Regions from separate parts of the Homo sapiens genome. Here region 1 is linked to region 2. Evidence: promoter capture Hi-C in human tissues and cell types (Jung and others, 2019). All regions are on one chromosome and are shown on one strand. The core of a region is centred on a gene start or on the middle of the fragment in contact, and the rest is flanking DNA. Distances in the headings are between cores, read along the strand shown.

What was found. The method cuts DNA at HindIII sites, captures the fragments that hold promoters and counts their contacts. A contact is called where the count stands out against the background at its distance.
Region 1: a contact is called between a fragment that was not itself captured here and the fragment with the promoter of ATXN10 in region 2, in 2 of the 25 tissues and cell types used here (IMR-90 fibroblasts and aorta).

The regions. Positions count from the first base shown.
Region 1 is chr22:45,397,738-45,403,313 of GRCh38, reverse strand. It overlaps SMC1B (structural maintenance of chromosomes 1B), which reads left to right. Exons shown (of 25, transcript NM_148674.5): 5 at 743-981; 6 at 3,961-4,219. Among named protein-coding and RNA genes, the nearest start is that of SMC1B, 13 kb to the left of the region's middle. The HindIII fragment of the contact is 7,606 bases long and covers 1-5,576 here.
Region 2 is chr22:45,668,361-45,673,665 of GRCh38, reverse strand. ATXN10 (ataxin 10) reads right to left here and starts at 1,832. Exons shown (of 12, transcript NM_013236.4): 1 at 1,487-1,832. The coding sequence starts at 1,602. RefSeq lists silencers at 1,200-1,529, 1,860-1,909, 1,970-2,159. The HindIII fragment of the contact is 16,564 bases long and covers 1-5,305 here.

The DNA.
Region 1 (5,576 bases), core at 1,638-4,137, 270 kb after region 2:
TCTTCATGTTTTCTAATATGTATACATGTCCTTGGTTTTGTTAGTGGAAAGGAGTGGCAGCAGTGGAAGTCAGACTATAATAATCACAATATACTGAACTGCAAAATTTAAACATTTTAAGGACAGTTAGAACGAAACAACTTCCTAATTGTTTTTTACAACATCCTAGTGGATAGCCTGTTACTTTGAATACTTCCAATATTGATTAGGAGCTCCTCTTGAGGTAGCCTGTTCCTTTATTTCTTTAATAGCACAAATGTTAAGGAAATTATTATTTTTCACATATAATTTAGCACTGTAAGAGTCCTGTTTTATCGGTAGAAAAACTACTTCCTGTAGTAGGAATTTTTCCTGGAGTCATTGAATTTAAAGTTACTAGCACCTTATAAGTCATATCACACTCTTCTTTCAGTTTACAAAGGAGGAAGCTGATGCCAGAAATACTGATTGAGTTGTGAAACTCACAGGTCCAGACAAAAGGGACCCAGGCTAATGCATGCCACTTCTTTGTTCTCATCATCATACCACTGAGCGCAAGAACACAAAATCATTTGCTGGTGTATTGGGTTATTTAAAAAGTATATTCAGAAACCCTCGCCAAATTATGCTACTTTTGGCAAGAACATTATGTCCTAATAAATAAACATTCATTAGTTAATTTGTTGGTATAGTAGTTGAGTTTATGAAAGGCCAACTTAAATACACTCCCTTTTAACTGCTGTTGAATTATACTCTTTTATAGGCAGAACGTTACCAGAGTCTCCTTGAAGAACTGAAAATGAACAAGATACAACTGCAGCTTTTTCAACTATACCATAATGAGAAAAAGATTCATCTCCTGAACACCAAGTTAGAGCATGTGAATAGGGATTTGAGTGTCAAAAGAGAGTCTTTGTCTCATCATGAAAACATAGTTAAAGCCAGGAAAAAGGAACATGGAATGCTAACTAGACAACTACAACAAACAGAAAAAGAATTAAAGTGAGTTTTTAAAAGTAGATATTAACAGTTGGGTTATATGTAGCTTGATAGAGGGAATAATATAAGTGACACTTTGAAAATTGATTTTAAAAATAAGCTTTTTACTTTGGAATACTTTTAGATATACAGAAAAATTATAAAGATAGTATAGGCCAGGTGTGGTGGCTCATGCCTGTAATCCCAGCACTTTGGGAGGCTGAGGCAGGTGGATCACGAGGTAAGGAGATCGAGACCATCCTGGCTAACACGGTGAAACCCCGTCTCTACTAAAAATACAAAAAATTAGCTGGGCATGGTGGCAGGCACCTGTAGTCCCACCTACTCGGGAGGCTGAGGCAGGAGAATGGCATGAACCTGGGAGGTGGAGCTTGCAGTGAGCCGAGATCACGCCACTACACTCCAGCCTGGGCAACAGCGTGAGACTCCATCTCAAAAAAAAAAAAGGTGGTGTAGAATGGTCCTGAAGTGGTGGTGTTTGGGGTAATACCCGAGGTTCATTGCCTCACAGCAAGGAAATCAAGGATGCAGACACACAAGGAGTGAGGTTAAGAGTGGGTTTAATAGGTGAAAGAAAGAGAAAAGCTTTCTCATGCAGAGAGAGGGGCTCCCAATTGGGTCTTCTGGTCCACAGTGAAGTACAGGCGGTTTTATAGATGAGCTTGAGGAGGCGGTGTCTGATTTAGGGCATGAAGGGTTGTTCAGATCAGGTATTCCATTTGCATAGCACGTGAAGAACCGCTTAGGACTAGATGTGCCATTTGCATAGTGCACAAAGAAGCTGGCCATCCCACCCTAATTTTTTATTATGCAGATTCTGTACCTGGCTGGCGCCATGTTTGCCAGCTTTTCTACTGTACACGTGGTGACAAAGAAAAGGGAAGATGGAGCCTTCATGTTGAACATAGCTGGCTTCTGAGTACCCCTTTTCTATTGGCTCAGCTGCCGGCATTCACTCGTGTAAGCTTCCAGCTTGCTTATGTACCCCATTTGTAGCCTAATTTTTCAGGCTCCTCTTTGTTAGAAAAGAAATGATTTTGGGGCTGCTTTTCGTTAAAAGGGAAGCTCTGCTGAGGACTCTCTTAACCTTCACTATCTGCCTAAATAATTTATTTTTAGCCCCTGTATCAGTCCCATATTCCCAACACTCAGTTTCTCCTATTATTAATATCTTACATTATTATGATACATTGTCAGAATTAATAAACTAATATTGATACATTAACTAAAGTCCATACTTTATACATATTTTCTCAGCTTTTGCCTAATGTCCTTTTTATGATCCAGAATACCATATTACATTTAGTTATATGTCTCCTTAGGCACCTTTTAGCTGTGACAGTTCTTGTTTTTGATGAACTTGACAATTTTGAGGAATATTGGTCAGTTTTTTTATAGAACATCTTTCAATCCGGATTTGTCTGATGGTTTTCACATAATTAGACTGAAGATACAGACTGTGGGGAGGAAGCCCACAGAAGTAAAATGTCCTTCTCATTATATTCTATCAGAGTGTCAGTGTATTATATATGTTACATGACATTTATCATGTACTATATCATGTGTCATATCAACATGGTATCACTGTTGATGTTGACCTTGATCACCTGACTGAAGTAGTTTTTGTCATGTTTCTCCTCTGTGAGGTTATTTTTTCTCCCTTTTCATACTATAATCTTTGAGAGGAAGTCACTATGCTTAGCCCACACTTAAGGAGTAAGGAGAGTTATGTTTTACCTTGAGGGCAAAGTATCTACATGATTTTTTTGGAATTCTGCACAGATTTGTCTCTACTTAATTATTTTAAAATTAAATTAATTGTTATTTGTTTACATCAGTATAGATTTATGGATATTTTACATTTAGAGTTATAATCCAGTATTACATTGTTGATTTTGTTGCTTAGATTGTTCCTGCTGTGGCCACTGAGAACTCTTTGAGTTGGCTCCTGTGTCCCTTTGAAATATTCTCATTACTGTGATTTTTTTTTGGAGCTCTTCCTTACTTTCTAGAAGATAAGTATCTTCTACTGTCATCTTGTATAAGCCAGTCCAAGCATCAGCTTGCCCCAGCTTGTATGAGCCTGCCCCAGGCTCTCCAAGGAACCCTGGTTCCTTTTATCGGAGAACAGTATTAGGAACCAACATCTAGGTGGTAGGTGTGTTCGTTGCTACTGGAGTGTCCTTGCTTCTAGGCTTTCTCAGCTGTTGGAACTAGGAAATACCTGTGTATACTATTTATACACATAGCTATAAATATTTTCATATGTGACCATCTATATTAAGCTAAACATGAGTTCATATTGATGTCTCCCAATTCTAAGCCATTACCACATTAATCATTCTAGCCTTCTCTTGCTTATCTGTAACCTCCCACTTCAACAATGGGAAATCTGGCTTCTACCATCTGCCATCCATTTGCTTAATTGTGCATTTCCAGTAATCACGTGTAATAGCGTCAGAATTGTTAACCCGTACCCCCATGGAAAGCATCTTTGTAACTACAGTATAGTACTTATATACAATTCTTTTGCTTTTAGTCTTACAGACTCCACTCATTTCTAGAATTAGGTCAGCATGTTTTCCTTCCACCCCTTCAGTAAGGCTGTTTCTACATTTATAATAAAGTTAGATTTTTTATTGCATTCTACATTCCATATAGGATCCCTTAGCCTCCTGAGTGATTCTTTTTTAATTTGCTTACATTAAGGTTCATCCTTGGTGCTGTAAAGTAATACAGGTTTTGGCAAATTCATAGTGTCAAGTGTCTACCACTACAGTACCACTCTCAAAAGTGACCGTGTGCTTTATTCATCCCTCCCCCTGACCTTGCTCAACCTTTGGCAACCATTGATCTGCTTACAGTCTCTGAAAGTTGATTTTTAGGATTTCTTTTTTAAAGTGGTTTGATCAAAACAACTTCTTCCCTTTATATATTAAAGAAATGAAATTTTCTTTAAAGCAAACATTTTTCCCTTTTCAGATCGGTTGAAACCCTTTTAAATCAGAAGAGGCCTCAGTACATTAAAGCCAAAGAAAACACTTCTCACCACCTTAAGAAATTAGATGTGGCTAAGAAATCAATAAAGGACAGCGAAAAACAATGTTCTAAACAGGAAGATGATATAAAAGCCCTGGAGACAGAGCTGGCTGATTTAGATGCTGCATGGAGAAGTTTTGAAAAGCAGATTGAGGAAGAAATTTTACATAAAAAGCGAGACATTGAACTGGAAGCCAGTCAGGTAAAAAAGGACAACTTAGGGGAAATCTTGTGTTTCTATTATTTCAGCTGCTTTGAATTAGAAAAAAATTTAAAAGATGACCTCTCTGATATTTTAAGAGATTATCCTCAATGTAAATTGTGGGGATTTAAATTTTTCAGCCTGTATACAGAACTAGATTTATTTATTTTTAATTTTAATTTTGTAGAGAGAGGGTCTCGCTCTGTCACTCAGGCTGGAGTGCAGTGGCATAATCATGATGCAGGATTTTTTTTTGTTTGTTTTTGAGATGGAGTTTCGCTCTTATTGCCCAGGTTGGAGTGTAATGGTGTGGTCTTGGCTCACTGCAACCTCCGCCTTATGGGTTCAAGCGATTCTCCTGCCTCAGCCTCCTGAGTAGCTGGGATTACAGGCATGCGCCACCATGCCTGGCTGATTTTGTATTTTTAGTAGAGACGGGGTTTCTCCATGTTGGTCAGGCTGGTCTCAAACTCCCGACCTCTGGTGATCCACCTGCCTTGGCCTCCCAAAGTACGGGGATTACAGGCGTGAGCCACCATGCCCGGCCGATGCAGGATTTTTCTCAGTCACTTTGTCAGCCAGAGACCCTCAGTTGGTGACGCCCTTGCTCAGGCCTTGCTTGGTCCCACGTTCACTGCAGGAGACACCCTGTCAGCCTGCCAGGCCGCACCTGGCCTGCACTCTGGCGCGAATCCCACAGCTGCCACGACTGCTCACTCAGCCCCCAGCAGAAGAGGGTGTGTGAGCGAGCAAGTTTAGTTTCCAGCCAGCTGTTCCAAGTACCGGCACAGAAGCAGGCTTCATGTGGTGCTTGGAGCTGGACCAGGTGTGTTGCAAGCCACTTCCACAGTGGGCTCTGGCGCCCAGATGAGGGGAACACAGTGGCACCCAGGCAAGGGTGCTCCTGACCCCAAAGCCCCAGAGGGGGTGTTACAGTGTGCTAATCAGCTCTTTAGTCCTGTCTGCAGCCTGAAGGATGCACGTCCGAAGGCATGTTAACAGCTCTGTCAGCCTCTTGACCCACTCTGGCCCTCAGCTCTGGGGCTTGCTCGGCCCCACCACTGCTTCCTGTCATGTGGGGCAGCTGCCCTCTGCCAGCAGAGGGCAGAGGGCCACAGTGTTTCAGCCTTCTGTGTACCCACGTTCAGTGGGTCCTCAGTTCTTGTCCTGTGTCTAAGAAGAATGAAGCTACACTGGCAATCGAAGAGTGAGGAAGGCAAAGAAGAATTTTATTGAGCTATGAAACAGCTCTCAGCAGAGAGGGGATGCAAGAGGTCATCCACTACCTGAAGTCAGGTGGTTTCTCCCCCAGTGTAGCTGGGTCTGGGGCTTTTATGGACTCAGAATGGAGGAATGT
Region 2 (5,305 bases), core at 583-3,082:
ATTTCCCAAATATGCCTGATAAAAGGGATCACTCACATCATTCCTCTCTGTACCCTCAGACCCCAACAAAAAAATCTGTTTCATAGTAGGTGCTCAATAAATGGTTGATGACTGGGTTATTAACTAAAAGGAGGGTCCATCATGATACAGAAATGCCTAAGCATTAAATCAATAAATACATCTCCCCCAAAGGCCCATAGAGCAGTACCAGGGACTTTTATTAATAGCATTCCTTCAGCAGCTCCACATTTCCCAAAGTGATGTGAGGTAAAGGAAGTGCTCAGACCAGGTGTCTAGTTTAAAGAGAGGAAGTCCTCTAGTGATCACCTAGGCTGACCCAAGTCTCAGTATTTCTTTCTTCAATGTTCCCTCTGCTTTGTACATACATACCCCCACAGCTGTGTTATCTTGTACATACTAGTACAGGAGAGAGCAAGGACTTTCCATTTTCCTACCCCATCACCTAGCACAATAGCTGATACATGGGTAACTACCAATCAATGTGTTAAGTGATAATATCAGCTACATTTAGTGCTATGTACAGGTATGTCCTAAGGATTTAATATGCATTATATCTCATTTACTCCTTATGACACTATCACCAGGGAGGTACTGTTCAACTTTACTCCCATTAAATAGACAAGAAAACTGAGGCCCAGAGGACAGAACAAGATCAAACAAGCATTGACTGAGGGCTTCGCACATTTTATATTTTCACGTACTTTATTTCATTTATTCCTCTGTACAATCCAGCAACTAAGCTGTGTATTATAGTCCCATTTTTAGACAAGAATTCTAAGGCCTGGAGAAACTGCACAGTAACACGCAGCTTGCAAGGCCAGGAACCAAATCCACAACTGTCGACTCCTGGGCACCTTCTCTTTTTGCCTGGCTATCTTGCCCCTCAGTGGCATCAGGACTGGACTGGTCTCTCCAGGCCCGTGCTCTTCCACACTGCACAGAGCGCTGCCCCCAGGGCAGATGGTGCAGCCTGGGCTCTAACGCCGAGGAGAAAGGAGTGCCAGTCCCACTCCATGCCTAGAGACTGCCATCCCCGCAACTGCCCAATTCCCGCGTCCGTAACACGGGTCTCTCCCGCTAAAACACACGCTTTATGACTCTGGGGGCCGCGTGGGTCTTGCAGCCAGGGCCTGGCGCAGCCCTCGCACATGACAGGGGAGGCCTAACCGTGTGTTGGGTCAACATCACCGGCACGCCGCGGCAAGGGCTCCCGGGATCGCGGCTTCGCACCCGGACTGGCTGCGGTGGGGGAGCGGGGCGCCCGCCCCAGGCCCCGCGGGGACCCACGAGCACGAGGCGGTGCCTGGGAGTCGGGAGGCCTGGGTGGCGCTCAGGCAGCCCGCGCAGGCCTCGCCCTCCGCGTCTCCAGCGAGGCGGGGGCGGCGCCTGGGTCCAGGCCGGGGCCGCCGCGGGAGTCCCGGCCGCCCTCCCCTGCCCGGGGCAGCCCCCCGGCCGGACCCGTTACCGGTTCCGCTGCTCTTTGAAGAGCGCCGTGAGCGCGCGCAGGGCCTCCAGGTCTTGGATGGGCGCCGGCACCATGACGCCCGACAGCCTGGCAGGCGGCGGCCTGGGCGCCGCCATCTTGCCGCTCACAGCTGGGTCGAGCCTGACGAGGAGGAGGAAGGCGAGGAGGACGAAGGGGGAGGATGACGAGGAGGGAGGAGTAGGATGGCGAGGAGGAAGGGGGAGGCCTCGCCCTACACAGCCCTAACCGCCGCCGCCGCTGCAGCCCGCGCTGCCCTGAAGCTGCGCCGCCGCCGGAGAGCTCTAGGCTGAGCCCAGACTCGCCTCAGGCGGGAGGAGGAGACGGCGCCGCGGGGGAGGGGGCGCCGGCGGAAGTCCCGCCTGAGGGGAGGGGGCGCGGCGGAAGTTCTGGGTGAGAGCGGGGAGGGATGCTGGGGGTGATTGACTGGGAAGCGTCGCAGACGGGGCTCCTCCGAGGGGAGGGGACGCCGGGGGGAGGGGGACCTGTGTTGATGTGGCCGTAACAGGGTCTCGGTCTTGGGAGCGGGTATCGGGAACCAGAGGTTCACCCTGAGAAAGAGGGGCGCGTCCTATAGGAGGGTGCCCGCGGACAGAGGGGTCTCCCCCAGGGGAGGGGATCCGGGGGGTAAGGGGCCTGTGGAGGGTGGGGCCGTAACAAGGTCTCGGTCTTGGGAGCGGGTATCGGGGACAGAGGTTCACCTTGAGGAAGAGGGGCCCTCCTGTGGGAGGGGGCCCGCAGACAGAGTGGTCTCCCCCAGGGGAGGACATTCTGGGTGGAGGGGACCCTCTTGGGAGGAGACGCTGACTGAGGGTCTCGGGAACGAAGGGGGCCGGGCAGAGGCTCCCACTGCTAAGGCTGAAGACCTTGATCCCACTGCTCAAGTGGGTTGATCAGTGCCCCCGCCCGGGTCCACTGGAAGCTGGAGCGGTCTGTCACTAGCTTGCAAGTCTCAGGCCCTGAAAACGCACTTCCCAGTACTTACTGATCATTGCTGATCAATACCAGACCACTTACCAGGCACTTTGCCTCTAGTGAGTATACATTGCTCCAGCTCCTCAAAGCCTTAAAATACCGTTCGAAGTCAAGAAGCTAAGTTACACAGCAATAGGGTTAGAATTGTTTTTTTTCCTAAGGGAAATGAATATATTTCACAGGAATCAGACAAGGCTTCTCTAGCTGGTGTTGATAACTCACATATTTTCTTTCCACTGCCCTTTATTACAGTGTATATACTTTCAACAAAAATTGTTGCTAAGCCCTGCGCTAGGTGCTGGAGATGTAAAGATTAATAAAAGACAGTTCCAAACCTGAAGGAACCTCACAGACTATTGAGAAGGAGAGAAGCAAACATAACTGAGTATAGTTGTGAACTGCTATAACTGTACAAATTGCTGTGGGACCACTTAAAATATATAAATACATACCCTTTACATTCTGCTTGGAGGGTAGGAGTGTGCTTATAACATGGCGCTTTTAACATTCTTTGCTAAATAAAATGTAAAGATAACAATAAACACCACCAGAGTATGCAGAAAAAGTGAATCCTGGTGGGGCATGGTGGCTCATGCCTGTAATCCCAGCACTTTGGGTGGCCAAGGCAGGAGGATTACTTGAGCCCAGGAGGTCGAGGCTGCAGTGAGCTGTGATCACACCACTGCACTCCAGCCTGGGTGGCAGAATGATACCCTGTATCAAAAAAAAAAAAAAAAAAAAAAAAAAAGGAGGGAGGGAAATGAATGCTGCTGCACAAGCAAGTTACTTGATATTGTCATTCAGTTTACCCATTTAATTGAGTATGTATTTATTCATTCCACGAATATTGCGGTGTACTATGTGCCAGGTATTAGATCACTTATTAGTAGCAGTGCTCAAGACAATGCAAAATGTTTAACACTCCTTAAGCTAACAGGGCAAAAATCTCTTAATTTTCCCTTGAGGAGCACAGGATAGTAAAATGTACTTGTTATGCACCAAAATCCTGATCTTTAGGCCAGACACGGTGGCTCATGCCTGTAATCCCAGCACTTTGGGAGGCCGAGGCGGGCAGATCACTTGAGGTCAGGAGTTCAAGATCAGTCTGGCCAACATGGCAAAACCCCCTTTCTACTAAAAATTAGCCAGGCATGGTGGCGGGTGCCTGTAGTCCCAGCCATTTGGGAGGCTGAGACAAGGGAATTGCTTGAACCTGGAAGGCACACGTTGCACTGAGCTGAGATCATACCACTGCATTCCAGCCTGGGCAACAGAGGGAGACTCTGTCTCAAACAAACAAACAAAAAAACCTGGCCTTTAGTTTTCTTATTCTCAAATGTAACATTCCCAGAAAAACATTCCCTATAATATTCATACTTCTTGCCTGGAATATTGTAATATATTCCTGATTGGTCTTTTGGCCTCTGCTCTTGCTTCCTTACGTTTTAGATCGTTTAAAAAATATTTCAACATTTAACTCTGCCCAAAACCCTCTAAGGGATTTCCATTTCACTCAGAGTAAAAGCCAAGTTCTTCCAATAGAAAAGCCCCTAAATGACCTGCCTCCTCCTTCGCCATCACCTCCAGCCCCTGTGGGCTCTAATCACATCTACTAGCCTCTTCCTCTTCCATTGTGCTTCAGCCATACTGACCTCCTTATTGTCCTCTGTCTATTTAAAAGGAATAAGCTGAGGTAAAATCAATATAAAGAGTTTATTTGGGCCAACGTGAGCATTGCAGTCCAGGACACACATCCAAGTTGCCTTGGGGAGTGCTCTGGAGAACGAAAGAGAAGCTCAACTTTTTAAAGAAAAAAGGACGAATCAGGAGAGAGGGTGATTTAAAAGGTTGTTTGTCATGAATTCTCATTGGTTTAAGAAATAATGTTGGTTAATGATTGGCTGTACAATGTTGAACTATAGATTGTATGCCATTGTGTAGCTAGTTGACATCAGTTCGTCTAGAGGCCAAATAGAATGTGGCTTCAAGAGGTAATTAGGCCAGGCATGGTGGCTCATGCCTGTAGTCTCAGTGCTTTGGGTGGCTGAGGCAGGAGGATTGCTTGAGCCCAGGAGTCTGAGACCAGCCTGCACAACATAGTGTGAGACCCCCCATCTCTACGAAAAAATTTTTAAAAAATTAGGCATGGTGGTACATGGCAATAGTCCCAGCTACTCCAGAGGCTGAAATGGGAGGATTCATTGAGCCTAGGAGTTGAAGGCCTCAGTGAGCTATTACCACACCACTGCAGTCCAGCCTGGGTAATAGAGAGAGACCCTGTCTTTAAAAAATAGTAATAATTCCTTTTGAAAAGAGGTAAGTATTCAGCTCAAGGAGGAGAGACATGATTGGTGTTTCATTCCAATGCTTCTCTAGGCCCGATCATTTAAAGGAGATCATATTCCTCAGATAAAGTTTTGTTTTTCCTTTTTTTTTTTTAAATCCCATAACTCCACCAGGAAAAGAACTCTCCTGCCTTAGGAGTTTGTATATGCTGGTGTTTTTGTTTTTGTTTTTGTATAGAACAACTCCTCACAAACATCTCCATGACTTGCTTCCTTATTTCCTTCAACTACCTGTTCAAATGATCTTTTAACAACCTTCCTGATCAATCTATTTAAAATTGTAACAGGCTACCCAAATTCCTGATCCCCAGGAATTTTCCGCATAGCACTTAATACTTGATATATAACTTACTTTTCTATTTTGTTTATTGTTGCTTATCTATTTCACTTACTACTAGAATGTAAGCTCTACAAGGGTAGAGATTTTTGTCTCTTTTGGTTATTTTTGTATCTCCAGCCCAGCACCTAGAAAAAGACCTAC